2 separate regions of the Homo sapiens genome follow, and region 2 is linked to region 1. The links are contacts of gene promoters, found by promoter capture Hi-C in blood cells and fetal thymus (Javierre and others, 2016). All regions are on one chromosome and are shown on one strand. Each heading gives the region's core, a stretch centred on a gene start or on the middle of the fragment in contact. The rest is flanking DNA. Distances are from core to core; before and after follow the strand shown. Region 1 holds the start of BTN1A1 (butyrophilin subfamily 1 member A1). Region 2 has its middle 15 kb from the start of H2AC6.

Region 1 (3,004 bases), core at 163-2,662:
CTCCATTGAGGGTGTGATGGATTCAACATTTCAGGAAGGGACTGTAGAAATATGCTGATACTAGGTCGGGCATGGTGGCTCACACCTGTAATCCCAGCACTTTGGGAGACCAAGGCAAGCAGATCATTGAAGCTCAGGAGTTCGAGACCAGCCTGGCCAACATGGTGAAACCCTGTCTCCACTAAAATACAAAAATTAGTTGGGCATGGTGGCACGTGCCTGTAATCTCAGCTACTCAGGAGGCTGAGGCAAGAGGAAAATCCTTTGAACCCTGGAGGCGGAGGTTGCAGTGAGCCAAGATTACGCCACTGCACTCCAGCCTAGGCGACAGAGTGAGATTCCGTCTCAAAAAAAAAAAGAAAAGAAAAGAAATATGCTTATACCATTTGATCTGATGACTCTATTTCTGGAAATTTATTAAACAGTTTATCAGGACATTATCCAATTTGCAAATAAAGACTTATATATAAAGTGTATTATTTACAATAGGAAAAAAATCCCAAATGTCCCACAATCATGGCAATTATACAACTATTAACAATATTTTGAGTTACACAAAAAGTCTAATTGATTGCTTTTATGATATACATAAGCATAAAATAAATCTTGGAAGGACTATGCCAAAATGTGAATTGAGGCTATCATTAGTTAGTAGATTAAGTGTGACCTCCATTTTATAAAAATATTTTTCTGTATTTTTAAATTTTTTCATAACAATGAGAGGTAGGTTTAGTATAAATTAAGGAATTGTAGGCCTCATGATGAGTTGCTTCAAAAGAAATAATTGTCAGGGAGGCAACTTTTGGGCCCTGTAAACAGAATTCACAGCCTACCCTTAAGACTGGCCTTTAATGGAGTTGTTCCAACAGACACAGCACCTAAGGTGGACGGACGCTCCAATAACGAAGATGGCTATAGACAGAGGCTACTGCTACCTTGGCCTCTGGGCTTTCATTTTTCAACCCGCAGAAATAATAATAGAATAACAATTTATCCTCCGCTGAGTTCCTACTATGTGCTAAGCACTTTACCTGCTTAATCTCACTTAATCCTCCCAACACCTCTTCAAGAAAGGTATGATCAATATTATTACCATTTTAGAGATCAAAGAACTGAGGCTTGGAAAGAGGAAATAACTGGCTGAAGCCATCACATCTCATTTGTGTGTTTCCTTGCCTCTCTTCTCTTTTTCTCTTTTCTGCCTTTCATTTGGTCCAGCTCATCAATGCATATCTTGATTTCTGAGCTGAAGACCACAAATCCAGTTTTCCATCTCTCTGAAAAACTTTTCATCTCCCTTTTTTTTTTCCTCAGAGTGAATATACCAGGCCACCTGGAGGCAGGCTTTCCTGAGAGCACCTCCCGCTTCCTTTTCCTGCTGGCTTTTAACTTTTGCCCCGGGGGCCACAGCCAGCTTTCTCACTTGGTAGCAGTGGCCTCTTGTGCCTTTTTCTCCAAGATCACCCAGGTCAGTATGTGTGGTTACTCTCAGCTCCCTGAGGGAGTGAGCAGCCAGAGGGGCATAGCATACTTCTCTCCCTCCAGCTCCTTTCTCCTTGGTCCTAGGCCCTCTACTCTTCAAGCCCTTTTGCTTGCTTCAGCTCCTGCTTCTTGCTCCATCTCCTCCCATCTTTTCTCTCTTCTCCAATTCATTTCCTTGGACTCCATTTCTGCCTTTATACCCTTATCTTTATTATCATTGCCAAAAGCAAATACCAAATTCTTGTATTTGAAAAAAGACTTTGGCCAGGCACGGTGGCTCACGCCTGTAATCCCAGCACTTTGGGAGGCCAAGGCGGGTGGATCACGAGGTCAGGAGTTCGAGGCCAGCCTGGCCAACGTGGTGAAACTCCGTCTCTACTGAAAATACAAAAAATAGCGGGGCATGGTGGTGCGCGCCTGTAGTCCCAGCTACTCCGGAGGCTGAGGCAGAACAATCGCTTGAACCCAGGAGGCTGAGGTTGCATTGAGCCGAGATCATGCCACTGCACTCCAAGCTGGGCAACAGAGCAAGACTGTCTCAAAAATAAATAAATAAATAAATAAAAAGGAGACTTTTTTTTTAGTGCAGTGATTCCAAGATTTGTTCATCGATATGCAACCAACTAATGAGTGTTATGCCTCACAGTTCCCTTCTCCTAAGTTTTAGAGTTAGAGTAGTGGGTGGGAAGGTGATAACCACAGTGTAAACTAAAAATCCATACTGGGGATGGAGGCTGAGAGGAGGTTTCAGGGGCAAATGACCAGAACACTTGCAGCTGGAAAGAACTGTAGAGAGGACTTTGGAAAGCGGAGGGTTGACAGAGCCGGTAGTTGTCTCCTGTCCATTCATCTCCTAGGCTGAAGCTCCTGAGGGGACTCACATCAGTTATCTTGCTGCTCCAGAAGGGTGGGAGATGGCAGTTTTCCCAAGCTCCGGTCTCCCCAGATGTCTGCTCACCCTCATTCTCCTCCAGCTGCCCAAACTGGATTCAGGTAAGTCTCTCTCTCTCTCTGGGCTGCATAGTTGAAATATATCAATAAATGTAAAATAAACAATCCCACTTGGCTCTCCCTGGAGACCTCCACTGGATCCAGACAAACTCAGCTGTCAAAGGAGTAAGAGAGCGCGGGGCACTGCGCTTTGGCGGGAATCTGGTCGGTGTCTGTCCGTAGTTCCCATCTCCACATCCCGTCTGATCCCGCTCGTTTTTCGGCAGCTCCCTTTGACGTGATTGGACCCCCGGAGCCCATCCTGGCCGTTGTGGGTGAGGACGCCGAGCTGCCCTGTCGCCTGTCTCCGAACGCGAGCGCCGAGCACTTGGAGCTACGCTGGTTCCGAAAGAAGGTTTCGCCGGCCGTGCTGGTGCATAGGGACGGGCGCGAGCAGGAAGCCGAGCAGATGCCCGAGTACCGCGGGCGGGCGACGCTGGTCCAGGACGGCATCGCCAAGGGGCGCGTGGCCTTGAGGATCCGTGGCGTCAGAGTCTCTGACGACGGGGAGTACACGTGCTTTTTCAGGGAG
Region 2 (2,700 bases), core at 9-2,508, 360 kb before region 1:
AGGGCTGTGGTACCTGTAAAGAACTAACTCATTATGAAGAAAAGGATCTGTAAGTTTTTCTGTATGTGTAAGGAAGGCCAAGAAGGTGGTTTCCAGATATATTTACTTTTTCTTCTCTCTCTCTTAGGTTGCAAAAGCTTCTCATTTCAGAGAGATGCCAGGATCCTAAGTGCCTGCCAAACTTACCAATTCTAAGGAATAAGTGGATGGATGGCATTACTGATTCCTACATTACTGATTGATTCTGCATCCGCAAATTGTTTTATTAAAAACATTCTACATCATGTGTGGGGAGATAAGGAGGATAAAATGAAGAGAAAGAATATTATTGAGGGGAAGTTCTTCTGAATACAAAATGTGTTTAATTTTTTAAATAAGTATTACATTCACAGGGTTCAAACTATTTGAAGTAAAGAGATTATATATAAAGAATCCATCCCTCAACTTACCCAGGTGGTCACTTTTCTTTTTCTTGTGTATCTGCCCAGTATTCATTCCTGCTGATATCAGTCAATAATGAATGATACGTGTTTTCTTCACTTTTTTCATTCTTGTCAGGTAGCAGACTGTGTAGACTTTTCTGCACTTGCCCTTTTCATAACAATCTATCTTGGAGAACTTTCCCTATGAGAACATACAGAGCTTCCTGTACACAGTTGCATGTACTGCATTATGCAAATGCATTATATTTTATGTAACCTGTCCACTGTTGGTAGGCACTTGAGTTGTTTTAGTCTTTTGCTATCAAACAGTTCTGGGATGATTAACCCTGATTTACTGCAAAATTGAAATTGCTCTGCTATTCTGCTGGAATGGTGGTAAGTGAACTGAAAATTCCAGTCACTCTTGGGCTAGACTCAACGTTCTTAAAAACTATGTGGCCATCACCAAATTAGTTATTTTGAACCTTAATTTCTTCACCTCTAAAATGGAGGTAATACTTACCTTAAGTGGCTATGAGAATGAAGATCATGTGTATGAATTGTTGGTGCTCTAAAGAACAGCACAAATAAAATTATTTTCAAATTTAATTTTAATTGAACTATGTGTAATTTCTTAATTTTGAAATAATTTTATTTGTAATGTGCATAATCTTATTTAATGTATAATGTATACATTGTAATAGAAACAGATTTCCCAAATTCCAGCCTGGCATGAGGTAATAAAAGGTAATGCAAAGGGAGAGGAAAGCATGTGTCATTAATTTTCTGCCTAGGACACCTCCCTGGTTAAATTGCCATTTCCTTTCTTCCTTGCATAATGATTAGGAAACACATCCTCCTGACCTGCCTGCCCTCTTTTGCCTACTTTTTCATCTGCAGTCAAGGTCTGGTTTTAAGACTGACTGTTACTTTTACAAATCTGTGTGTATTGGTGGCTAAGGGCCTGTATGGTCCACTGCTGTATTCCCAGGTCCCAGCATGGTGCCTGACGCTGCCTGGCAAATAGTAGTCACCCGAGAAATGGCTGATGAATTCATGAGGCCTACTCTGTATGGAAATTTCAATTCTGGCCCCGAATTTTCAGGAGCTGGCAAGAGAGCCACCTTAATATCATAGGCTGAGTTGGAAGAAGGGAACACCCAATTTATTCTTAAGAAGTACTTTGCCCAGGTACTGTGGCTTAGGCCAGTAATCCTAGCATTTGGGGAAGCCAAGTTGGGCAGATGGCTTGAACCCAGGATTTCGAGATCAGCCTGGACAACATGGAGAAACCCCATCTCTACAAAATATGTAAAATTTAACTGCTTGGTGGGCCTGCACTTCTGGTCCCAGCTACTCCAGGGCTAGGGTGGGAGGATTGTTTGATCCCTGGAGGTCAAGGCTGCAGTGAGCCATGATCACAGCAATGCGCTCCAGCTCTGGGCAACAGAGCGAGACCCTGTCTCAAAAAAAACAAAAATGCCTATACAATAAATCTATAAAAAGTGGGTTTTGTGTGTCTATACACACACACACACACACACACCTGCATAGACACTCAGGTGTTCTGGAAAGACACAGGAATCTGAAGCCAAAATACTTGTGATTTTTTTTCAGCTCTGCCACTCACCAAATGTCTGATGGGATTAGTTACCTGCCATCTCAGAATTTCTCTTCTGTAAAATAAGGTAATAGTACCTCCCAGAGTTATGAAAAACTATCAAATGAGATGGCAGATGAGAAAACACTATATTCCTTGTAAAACCTGACAAATATGTGCAAGATTATATAAAGACTGTCTTCTGTCCATTTTCAAATGTGGAAAAGTGAAAGCAGGACAGGATGTTGGGATTTCTGTCAGAGATTTGCTGGCTTCCACCTGCAGAAATTGAAGTAATTGGGGTTCTTACACCTAAGTACTAACTGAGTCTGGTTGCAGTTTGCCCCCATGGCTACATGAAGCTTTTAGAAGAGTCAGCATGGTAGACATGGAATGTTGAATGGTGGTGGAGTGTACCCACACACCTCCCACCAAGTCAGCTCCAGGTTCAGAAGCAGCAGCCCCAGTGGAAGGCATGCGTGTTTGTAACTCAGCTGAGCCACCTTTCAAGAAGCAGAGGCTTTCCAAACAGGGATGCCCCCTGCTTTTGGTTCAACTTGACTTCCTACCTTCAGTGAGGACATGGAGAATTCATCTAGACTGGGTACCTGAGCAAACTTGGCAGAGCAAAGAGAAATGTGGAAGGCCCTAGGTAGACAGGCCCTGTGGAAGGAAAGA

What was found. The method cuts DNA at HindIII sites, captures the fragments that hold promoters and counts their contacts. A CHiCAGO score of 5 or more calls a contact.
Region 2: a contact is called between a fragment that was not itself captured here and the fragment with the promoter of BTN1A1 in region 1, in 2 of 17 cell types (neutrophils and total CD4 T cells). The highest score is 6.7, in neutrophils.

What each region holds. Positions count from the first base shown.
Region 1 is chr6:26,498,891-26,501,894 of GRCh38, forward strand. It overlaps BTN1A1 (butyrophilin subfamily 1 member A1), which reads left to right and starts at 1,413. Exons shown (of 8, transcript NM_001732.3): 1 at 1,413-1,468; 2 at 2,340-2,475; 3 at 2,700-3,004. The coding sequence starts at 2,397. All of the region lies in intron 1 of LOC107986583 (a long non-coding RNA gene), which reads right to left. RefSeq lists an enhancer at 2,702-2,831. The HindIII fragment of the contact is 5,298 bases long and covers 1-3,004 here.
Region 2 is chr6:26,137,927-26,140,626 of GRCh38, forward strand. No RefSeq gene overlaps it. Among named protein-coding and RNA genes, the nearest start is that of H2AC6, 15 kb to the left of the region's middle. The HindIII fragment of the contact is 2,247 bases long and covers 136-2,382 here.